Regions from separate parts of the Homo sapiens genome. Here region 2 is linked to region 1. Evidence: promoter capture Hi-C in human tissues and cell types (Jung and others, 2019). All regions are on one chromosome and are shown on one strand. The core of a region is centred on a gene start or on the middle of the fragment in contact, and the rest is flanking DNA. Distances in the headings are between cores, read along the strand shown.

The links. Contacts are between HindIII fragments. The study calls those that stand out against the background at their distance.
Region 2: a fragment that was not itself captured here is called in contact with the fragment with the promoter of CPN2 in region 1 in 1 of the 25 tissues and cell types used here (aorta).

Annotation. Positions count from the first base shown.
Region 1 is chr3:194,349,334-194,354,788 of GRCh38, reverse strand. CPN2 (carboxypeptidase N subunit 2) reads left to right here and starts at 3,461. Exons shown (of 2, transcript NM_001080513.4): 1 at 3,461-3,547. RefSeq lists an enhancer at 3,136-3,985. The HindIII fragment of the contact is 16,925 bases long and covers 1-5,455 here.
Region 2 is chr3:194,606,662-194,612,800 of GRCh38, reverse strand. TMEM44 (transmembrane protein 44) reads left to right here. Exons shown (of 10, transcript NM_001011655.3): 8 at 1,781-1,885. LOC105374291 (a long non-coding RNA gene) reads right to left here. Exons shown (of 4, transcript XR_007096222.1): 4 at 5,802-6,139. Among named protein-coding and RNA genes, the nearest start is that of TMEM44-AS2, 23 kb to the left of the region's middle. The HindIII fragment of the contact is 4,521 bases long and covers 1,626-6,139 here.

The DNA of each region.
Region 1 (5,455 bases), core at 2,212-4,711:
AGAAAGAAAAGAAAATAAGTGGGGACCCAAAAGAAAATAACAAATGGTATCTATAGGCCACCGTGGCTGGAAAAGACCTGAAGGATAAGTTCAATCCATTTTATAGATGAGGAAAAGGAGCTCAAGACAGGAAATGAATGTCCAATAGTCACCAGTAAGCCAGTGGCTGAGCCAGCCCTGCAACCCAGGCCTTCAGGCTCCCAGGCTGGTTCTTTTATGCCACCAGGAAGCCACTGACGTTCTGTCAGCATTTGTTCAAAGCACACGTGTGTATGCACACACACACATGCATGCAGGCAGGTGGCAGGACTATGTTACACACCTCTGGACTCCTCTAAGTACTTAGCACCAGGCTCAGGAAGTCCCAGGCTCTCAGGCAACACTGTCTGAAGGAAGGTGACTCCCTCCAAGTGTCCAGGTGTCTCCAGAACTCCCTCAGGCCTTTGGGTTCTGGGGGTGCCACAGCTGCTGGTGCAGGTCCAGCAGTTAAGAGAGGGGTGATCTGCTGTCCCTGTCCCTTTATCCCATGATTATACACAGGAAAAGGGCTTCCAATCATATTTACCTGGACTCTTCTAGTGTCTTAGATCCCTTCTGCCAGGTGTAAGCCTGTCCCAGGAGATTAAGCCCAACAGGGGTCAGTCATGTTCATCATATTACAGGGCTGGACCCCTCCCATGAGCAAGGCAGGGCCTTGTTGCCCTTCCCTAGCCACTGAACCTTAGTACACTCAAACAGCTTTCTGGAATTTTGGATAATGGGGAAAGGAGTTAGAATCTCCATCCCTTCTCTTTCAGAAGATCCTTGAAATTTTTTTGTTTGTTTGTTTGAGGCAAAGTCTCATTCTGTCACCCAGGCTGGAGTGCAGTGGCGCGATCTTGGCTCACTGCAACCTCCATCTCCCGGGTTCAAGCGATTCTCCTGCCTCAGCCTCCCTAGTTGCTGGGACTACGGGCACATGCCACCACACCCAGCTAATTTTTGTATTTTTAGTAGAGATGAGGTTTCACCATATTGGCCAGGATGGTCTCGATCTCCCGATCTCATGTTCCACCCACCTCGGCCTCCCAAAGTGCTGGGATTACAGGCGTGAGCCACCTCGCTTGGCTGATCCTTGGAATTTTTAATGCAAGTCCCCTTCCACAGATGTTTCACCCTACACACACACTCTCTCTCTCTGTCTCCTACCTCCCCAGGCCTTCTGCCACACCCATTCCACAGACGAGAATGCAGAGACTTGTAGAGATTAAATCACTTGTCTAAGGACTGACTAGTTAGTTGAAGAGTCAGAATTCAAACCTAGATCTGTCCAATGCCAAATTTCTCTTGTTCACCAGGCCACGTTGACCAATGAACAAACGGTGTTGCTGGAGGCGAGTGTGGATGGCTTGAGAACCTTGAGTACAGGGCAGTGCCAGGCTCTTCCCAGAACTGCTTGTGAGTGCCCCCACGCAAGCCATTTTTCCCAGCCACTGTCCCACCCTTGCCAGCCCGGGGGCCGCTGAGGGGGAGCTGGGCACACTGTTCACCGCCTGTCTCCATCCCAGAGGCTCCCGCTGTCCTCTGCCAGAGTGCATTTGTGGCATATCGCCACTGAAACACACTTCCTTGCCACACTCCATTAGACCTTTGCAGTTTGGCTGATGCAATCAGCTCACGTGCAAAAGAAACATTAATTTGTACTCATAAAAAGCGTAGATAAAAATCAATACCATGCAATGAGTGAAAAAGCCATCAGTCTACTTTAAATGGTAGACTCCTGGCATTGAAACGATCTTAGACTGCTCGTCCAGGTCACCCCTTCACCCTGCTCGCCTCCACACACCCACTCCTACGCTCTCACCACACACCCACATACATCCTCACACTCACACTCACTCAGTGCACACTCACACATACCCACTCACCACACACCACACACACACATACCCCAACACACTCACACCTACTGCACACACGCACACCCACCCATTCACCACACACACCACACACCCACACACTGCACACACACACCCACTCACCACACACATACACCCACACACCCACTCACTGCACACTCACACCCACTTACCACACATTTTCTCACACACTCTCATTCTACACACACGAGACATACTCATGCATATACACACCCACTTATACCACACACACCCCTACACCCACTTACACACACCCACTCACACATACACCCACTTACACACACTGCACACCTACACACACGCACTCACCACACACACCCCTACACCCATTCACACATATACCCACTCACACCCCCCACACCCACACGCACGCACTCACCAAACACTCCCCTACACCCACTTACATACCCATTCACACATACACCCACTTACACACGCACTCACCACACACACCGCTACACCCATTCACACATATACCCATTTACACACACACACCCCACACCCACACGCATGCACTCACCAAACACTCCCCTACACCCACTTACACACGCACTCACCACACACACCTTTACACCCACTCACACATACACCCACTTACACACACATCACACATGTGCTCTCACCACACACACTCCTACACTCACATACACACGCCCACTCACATATACACCCTCTTTACATACCACACCCCCACACACGCACTCACCACACACACCCCTACACCCACTCACACATACACCCACACACGCACCCACACACGCACTCACCACACACACACCCTACCCACGCGCGCACACACCCACTCACACATACACCCACTTACACACACAACACACCCCCACACATGCACTCACCACACACCCCCTACAGCCACTCACATTTACACCCACTTACATGCACACCCCCAGATGCACGCACTCAGCACACACACACTCCGTGTGTCTTGCAGCCCTGGTTCCACACCTCCGGAGATGGGAAAATCCCTCCCTTCCAAAGCAGCATCTTTCGTCCTCGGCCAGCCCTGAGTGTGTGAGCGCTCCTCTCCATATTGGGCCCCAATTCATCTCCCTATAGCTTTTCCCCCTTCTAATTCAGGAAGGGTTTAGAAAGTTCATTCATTAAACAAGCAAACAAACACAACAAGACAAAACAACAAATCCACAGCCCTCTTGAAATGCCTCCGGGCGCTGAGAGCCCAGCAGGGGCCTGAGGCTGAAGGCAGGCTCCCAGTCCCTCTGCCTCTGCTCACAGGTATGGGTGTGAGCGTGGACCCCATCCCAGGCCTCACCAACCCAGCCGCCTGCGGGAATCTCTAGAGCTTTCTGAGTGTCCTCGGGGTCCTGAAGGTGCCAACCCTGCAACCTCGGTGGGATTTTGGCCCCGGCAGGGCTCTGTACATGGGAGGAGTTCAGGGTCATTTTGTAATCTTCAGAGGCCTTGCCAAGGCCCTCTCCCGTCCTGTGACCCTGGTGACATTCTGGGACGCTGGGGCCACGTGAGGGGAGGAACCACTGCCTGGAACTTTGATCAGCGCTGGGGCTGGATTGAGCTGACCACAGGCCACACCAGACTCCTCTCTGCTCCTGAGGAAGACAGGGCAGCCCGGCGCCACCCGCTCGGCCCTCACGGTAGGCTCCCGGGGTCGCTGAAGGGCTCCAGGGTCTGCAGGGACGTGGGGGCAGGAACGGGAACTTGCGATCTCCCCCGTTTCAGAGCATTCCGCAGCTCCAGGCAGGCTGCGGTTCTGGGGGGCCCCTGCCCCGGGAGGAGAAGTCCCTGAGGTGCTCAGCTAGGGCGCTGCTGGGAAGAGGCAGGAGGAAGGTGGGGCGGGGGTTTGTGAGATGAAGATCTGCCAGTCCTGGCCTACAAGGCTGGTAGTGAGTAGAGGATAAGCAGGGTGACCAGATGTCCAGGTTGGCCTGGTTCTGCCTAGTTTATACTTGTCATCTTGGCATAATAATAATAAATAGTATTACTAATTACTTATTAATCCTATATTAATACTAAATATTATTAATTATTTATTAATATAATTATTGTTTTTTGAGATGGGGGTCTTGTTATGTTGCTCAGGCTGGTCTTGAACTCCTGGCTTCAAGCGATCCTCCCACTCAGCCTGCTGAGTAGCTGGGATTACAAGCGCATGCCACAGCACCCAGCTCAGGCCCAAGGATGACTAGCTCCTGGTTTCCTTCCCAGAAGCGTGCTGGCTCATATAATAAAGTTTGTGGTGAAATAAACCTGCAGGGGGCCACCTTTTATTGAACATTCAGTATGTGCCAGGCGCTGTGTTAAGGGCTTTCTATTTACTATCTTATTTAGCCTATTTATCATCCAATGGAGTGCTAATTTGAACTCTGAGGGCAGAGGTGATAATTAAGTCTGGAAAACCTGAGGCTTAGAGAGTTGGAGTGATTTGCACAAGCCCACACCGCTAGTAGGTGATGGCGTCAGAATCTGATCCCAGCTGGGGGCACTGGCGGAGCTAAAGTGCTTTCCCCTGCTACTAAGCAGGATGAGAGTAAGGCCTGAGATGCGAAGTCACTGAAAGCCACAAACACATTCCTTCAATTCAGCACACAGGGCCTGACTGCCTTCTCAGTGCCTGGCCCCGAGCCAGGTGCTGGGGTGCAGAGCTGCTTGCAGAGACACCACAGCAAGACTGCAGTACCACGGGCTCAGTCGGGTGGGTGCAACTGACTAGAAAACAGAGCGGAAGAGCCCAAACATTCAACACAGTACAAGAGGGATCCGAGGACCCAAGAAAGGGCCGAGCGCGGTGGCTCACGCCTGTAATCCCAGCACTTTGGGAGGCCGAGGCAGGCGGATCACCTGAGGTCAGGAGTTCGAGACCAGCCTGGCCAACACAGTGAAACCCCATCTCTACTAAAAATACAAAAATTAGCCAGATGTGGTGGCAGGCGCCTGTAATCCCAACTACTCGGGAGGCTGAGGCAGGAGAATCGCTTGAACCCGGGAGGCAGAGGTTGCAGTGAGCAGAGATGGCGTCACTGCACTCCAGCCTGGGAAACAAGAGTGAAACTCTGTCTCAAAAAAAAAAAAAAAAAAAAAAAAAAAAAAAAAAAAAAAAGAAGAGGGTAGTCAGGAAGGCTTCATGGGGGAAGTGTGACTTGCACTGGACTGGGAGGGTGGGTATAAATTGGGAGGGTCGCATAGTGCCCAGTTCACAACGGCCTCTTAGTTCAACCTGTCAGCTGTCTTCTCTTCCAGAAGCTAACACAGAGGATAGACAAGCTCCCTCGGGCCTTTGCAACATCACTGCCAGGAAGGAAAGAGTCAAGTAAGCCCCTACTGTGTGTGTGGAACTGTGCTGTGCATTTTACATGTTTATCTCAATATTTAGAATAAAATAGGTTTCAACCTTACTGCAAAAGTGATATGTTTCTTACTTAAAAATGTGGAACATATATTTTTAAGCAGAAGGAAAAAATTAAAATCATCCACAATTCAATTTTTCAGAGGTAATGACTACAAATTTTTTTCTTTTGAGATGGAGTTTCTCTCTTGTTGCCCAG
Region 2 (6,139 bases), core at 2,637-5,136, 260 kb before region 1:
CCCAGCTACTCGGGAGGCTGAGGCAGGAGAATGGCGTGAACCCAGAAGGCGGAGCTTGCAGTGAGTCGAGATCCCGCCACTGCACTCCAGCCTGGGCGACAGAGCGAGACTCCGTCTCAAAAAAAAGGACTTGAATATAAAATGGCTCCCTCTTTTCTAAGATTTCAATTTTTTTTTTTTTTTGGAAAAAACTCTCATCTATTACCTGGGCTCTTCACTACCTTAGACTCCTCTCACAGAGAGTGGGTGTGAGGCTGTGAGTAACTTCCTCCGTGGCCAGGATGGAGGAAGTGATGGGGAGTGCATTTGGACCGACAAAAACAAAAACTGCCCCTCCGAATGTTCTCCAAATGGCTTAACCATGTGATCCGACTGAGTCCGTGAAATAGAAGATCGTGGTGTATGTGACGCAGAGGAAAGCATTTTTTATATAGGTGCCCAGACCAAAGAGCCACGTTCCCATGAGGCCCTAGTGGGAAGTTATTTTCATTTCTTTCTAGCAACTGTTAGGAAATTATATTCCAAAAGGGGGCCAAAATATTAACAGAGCCCTGTGTGTCTTGGAATTCTGAAGAGAGAAGTAGAAGCCTCTGGAGTCTCTAGCAGTTCTTCAGAGCAGTGGTTCTCAAAGTGTGGGCCCTAGACCAGGATTACCTGGGAAACTGTGAGAAATGCAGATTTGGGGGCTCCACCCAGATCTCCCGAATCTGAAACTGAGGGTGTGGTCCAGCAATCTGTATTTTATTTATTTATTTATTTATTTATTTATTTATTTATTTTTGAGACGGAGTCTCACTGTTGTCCAGGCTGGATTGCAGTGGCACGATCTCAGCTTGCTGCAACCTCCGCCTCCTGGGTTCAAGCGATTCTCCTGCCTCCGCCTCCCACGTAGCTAGGATTACAGACACACGCCACCTTGCCCAGCCAATTTTTGTATTTTTAGTAGAGACAGGGTTTCACTATGTTGACCAGGCTGGTCTCGCACTCCTAACCTCAGGTGATCGGCCTGCCTCGGCCTCCCAAAGTGCTGGGATTACAGGCGTGAGCCACCGCGCCCGGCTGCAATCTGTATTTTAGCAAAACCCACAGGGTGCTTCTGATGTGCATCAAGGTTAGAGAACCACAGCTTTGCAAAAGCACTTATTGGGCACCTATTGCAGTGGTTCGCAAACTTGGCCGCACGTTAGAATCATCTGGGGCGCGTTTAAACGATCCACTTCCCGGTTACATCTCATACCCATGAAATCAGAATGTCTGGAAGTGGGAAGTAGGCATTCCTTGTTTTGTTTTGTTTGTACGACAGGGTCTCACTCTGTCCCCTAGGCTGGAATGCAGTGCCTGGATCACAGCTTCACTCCAGATCGCTGCTCAGCTGGGGATCTTAAAAAGCAGAATAGGCCGGGTGTGGTGGCTCACGCCTGTCATCCCAGCACTTTGGGAGGCCGAGGTGGGAGGATCACTCGTGGATCACTTGAGCCCAGGACTTTGAGACCAACCTGGTCAGTACAGTGAAACTGGTCTCTACAAAAAATAAAATAAAATAAAAAAGATTCCTAGCTGATTCTACTGTGTTGCAAAATTTGGGAAACACTAAATGACTGTGGCCTCGAAGAGAAAGATAAGACACATCTTATAGGAAGCAGAAAGTGAGACGTGCCGTTAAAAAAGAGAGAGAGAAAATACCACGGGGGTCCTTTTGAATAAAATGTGACCTTGTTTTTAGAAAATGCCTCCTGACTTTGAGAATTCCCCTTTCTGTCTCCCTGCCTCTACTTGCAAGAATTTGGATTGGGTGCCTCTCACCACACTGTCACACTGCAAGTCACTGAGGACAATGACAGCAATCAGTCGCTACATGGAGCTGACCATCGAGCCTGTGCAGCAGGTGAGTGGCCATCGGTCATGGCCAGGTGTCTGAGAGGATGGGAAGCAGTCATGGAAGGCTTCCTGGAGGAGGTGATGCTTTAGCTGAGGGATGAGCAGGAGAAAACAAGAGAAGCAGGTAAAAAAGAAGGAGCTGTCCAAGGCTGCAGTGGAGGGGCAGATATGGGGGAGTGTTGGAGAGAAAAATATTTTCCCTGTCCCCTCTGATGAAACACAGAGTAACAAGAAAAAACAGCTTTAAATGTACAAAGAAAAATGTGGCTCAAGGAGGTGGCCAGTTGATGGAGGCGTATATACCATATTAGGCTAAATCAAGAAAAAGAGGTTTGGGGTTCTGGGGTGGGAGGCAAGGTGAGGGAGGACCTGTGTGGGAAATAAGGGTTTTCTTGCTATGCAGGTGAGAGTCTCTCGGGTGGAAGTAGCTCTCTTCCTGGTGCAGAAATATCTTTACAAATGGAAATTTCCTTTATGAAAGGGAAAATGTGTACTCTCTTTTCAGGCAGTTAGGGGAGGTTAATAGCTTCTGCTTCTGCTGGTTTTCAAAGACCTTTAGATCTAAGGAATCCATATGCTAAAGAGGCATATTTCGGGGTGGTATATGCTGGTACCATTTAGGAGTGAGGGGAGATGAAAGGGCTGGAGGAGGCAGGGGTCGGGTCGTTTAGACACGGAGTCTATCATCTTTTTCTCTCTTTTTTTTTTTTGAGACACTCTGTCGCCCAGGCTGGAGTACAGTGGCATGATCTCAGCTCACTGCAGCCCCCCGGGTTCAAGTGATTCTCCTACCTCAGCCTCCAGAGAAACTGAGACTACAGGAGCCTGCCACCACGCCCAGCTAATTTTTGTATTTTTACTAGAGACGGGGTTTCACCATGTTAGCCAGGCTGGTCTCGATCTCTTGACCTCGTGATCTGCTGGCCTCGGCCTCCCAAAGTGCTGGGACTACAGGTGTGAGCCACTGCGTCCGGCCGTGTCTATCATCTTGAGAGTGATGGGAGTCAGGAGGCTTGAGTACTGGAGACTCAGGGTCAGATGTGCATTTTAGAGCCATCTGGGGAAGTTGTTGCGGGTGGCCTGGGGGAGAGGAGAGTAGCAGCCGAGCAGTCAGTCAGGGCCAGTTGGAAGCCCGAGGAAAAGGAAGTGTGGCCTAAACTGAGGTTGGAGCAGACGGAGAAGCAGAGACAGAGTTGAGCGAGTTGGGAAGTGGAGCGCTGGAGGGGTGAGGAGGTGCGGGTGAGGGAGGCAGGGCTCCGGGTGACTCCCTGAGTTCTGGCCTACACGAGGGGTCCTCAGGAGGAAGAGAATTGGGAAAGAGGTGACGAGAAGTTCACCCCATGTCCCACTATTCCACCAAGACTGTCTTGTCGAGGTCACCGATGACCTCCAAGCTGCTAAGTCCACCATCATTCCATTCTGAGAGTCCACGCACTCGGCCACCAGCTGCTCCTGGCGTCTGTGGCCCCCACTCTTCTGTGTTTCCTGCCACCCTCACAGGCTCTTCTTTCCCCTCGGCCTCTGCTGGCTCCTCTGGGTAAGCTTGACTGTAGAGAGGGAGTCCAACGCCCTGTCCCAGGCAGGCTCCCTGCTCCTGGTGGGCCCTGCAGTCCCACAGTCCCCTCGCTCTGCACACCAGTTCTTGCTGACTTCCCCCATTCGTGTCTCCGTCCTTTCCCCTCCCCTCAGTTCCCATCTCGGCTGCCCAGCTGCCCATTCAGCTGTCACCATATGGCATCTCACGCTTACCTCGTCCAACACAGAATTCTGGATTTCCATGCCCAGACCGGCTCCTCTCCCCATCTTCCTCATCTTAGTAAATGACGCACTGTCTTTGCAGTGGTTCAAGCCCAAAATTCCTCTTTCCCTGGCCACACCCCCATGCCCATCCATTCCTTTTGAGAGTCCTGTAAATGCTTCCTTATTTAAACTAGGTCTTGAGTCCAGCAGCCTCCTGGCTGTCATCCTCTCCACTTCTTCTGTGGTCCTGCCCTGCCCATCTCTAACGAGCAGCCAGAGGGATCATTCACAAATGTAAATGACATCTTGTTCCTCCTTTGTTTAAAACACTCCTCTGGGCCAGAGCTCTTGGTGGCCCACACCTGTAATCCTAATACTTTGGGAACCTGAGGTAGGAGTATCGCTTGAGGCCAGGAGTTCGAGACCAGCCTGGACCACATAGCGAGACCCCATCTCTCGTCTCCTGTTCACTCCTGTCTAGCTGCACAGAGTTTCTCTCCATTCCTCTGCCCAGAATGCTCTCCCTCCTGATTTTTCACAGCTGCCTCTTTCTTGTCTTTCCAGCTTCAACGTAAATGTCTGCTTCTCCAGAGCTCTTCCCTAACCACCCAGTCCGAAGCAGGACCCGTCTGTCCTTCTCCTCTATTTTATTACCTATTGAAATTCTCTGCAAAGCACTTATCACGATCTTTTACTTTGGTTTGTCTGTGTCCTGCTGAGATGTAAACTTTATCTCCTGTCTCGTTGACTCCTGGTGCCTATAACCTTGCAGTCCTGGGCTCTCAGTAAAGGTGTGTTTTGAATATATGGTCCAGTGGTGAGGGCCCCTGCCAGGCTGCCCAGACACACCGGTGCCCGGAGAGACTCGGCTGAGAGAGAGGTTTTGCTGTTTGCTGTTGTTGCTCCTTGTATACTGGGTGCACAGAACCTTGTGTATGACCTAAGTGAAGTTCAGAGAGATTCAGAGCATGCCTTTGTAGCTAAGAGCCCACTTCAGCCATTAAACCATCCTTCCGAAGGGAGGGAGGAGGCAGGGTGTGTGGGGAACCCTTGGGAAGGCACGGGAGTTCCTGCAGCATCTGGCCAAAGCTTTGCACTGGGAAGTTCTACATCATGGGACTTCTGAAGGAGAATGTGTAAAAGTTGTATTCACTTTAACCCTTCCAGTAGCTCAGTGTCGAAGGGATTCTTGTTGGGGAACAGACTCCATGAAAGAAGAGTGTGTTCCACCTTCATTCCCTCCCACTGAAGCCCACAAGTGCGTCTTTGAGCTTCCACCCAGCTTTTTCCTTCTGTGTCCATCAGAGGGCTAGAGGGAGCCCCGAGCCCCACTGTCCAGCTGGGCTGGCAGGTGCCTCCCTCAGCACTAGGGGCACCCCTCCCATCATAGCCTGTCTACTGAGGGTTAGGGACTTGCCAGGCTCTGAGTAAACAACAGCAGCCAACACTTACGTGGTACTTATGGGCCAGAGTACTGGTCTAAGTGCTTTACACACATTAACTTGCCCCACAGCCGACTCCTGAGTATTATACTCATTTTACAGATAAGGAAACTGGGGGCTGGAGCAGTTAAGTGACCTGCTCAAGGTCACACAGTTTGTCAGTGATAGAACCGGATTCAGACCTGTCTCTACCCGAGTTTGTGCCATTGACCTCTATGCTGTACAGCCTTGTACTTGGCATAATGACACCAAGTAAACACTTGATAAATGGCGATTTATTATTAATAAAATAATACTGTTTACCATGTAAGTGTTAATAAAAATGAGCCCAACAACTGTATGAGGAAGGATCCTAGTGTGTTTTGCATTGCCATAAAGGAACACCTGAGGCTGGGTAATTTAGAAAGAATAGAGGTTTATGTGGCTCGTGGTTCTGCATGTTTACGTGGTGCCAGCATCTGCACTGGTGAGGCCTCAGGCTGCCTCCACTCATGGGGGAAGGCAAAGGCAAGCAGGCTTCACATGGCAGGAGAGAGAGGAAGGGGTGCCAGGCTCTTTCTAACAAGCAGTTCTTGCAGAACAAAGTGAGAGCTCACTTACCAGAAGGGCCCTTCCACCAGGATCCAGACACCTCCCACCAGGCCCCACTTCCAACACTGGGATCACATTTCAACATGAGACACGCTGGGGCCAAACAAACCACATCCAAACCATAGCAGAGAGATACTATTATTATTTCTATTTTGTTTTATTTTTATTTTTTCTTTTATTCTTTCCTTTTTTTTTTTGAGGCAGAGTCTCGCTCTGTCGCCCAGGCTGGAGTGCAGTGGCACAATCACGGCTCACTGTGACCCACACCTCCTGTGTTCAAGAGATTCTCGATTCTCATGCCTCAGCCTCCCAAATAACTGAGACTATGGGCATATGCCACCATGCTTGGCTATTTTGTGTGTGTGTATTTTTAGTAGAGAAGGGGTTTCGCCATGTTGTCCAGGCTGTTCTCAAACTCCTGACCTCAAGTGATCCGCCTGCCTCGGCCTCCCAAAGTGCTGGGATTACAGGTGTGAGCCACCGTGCCT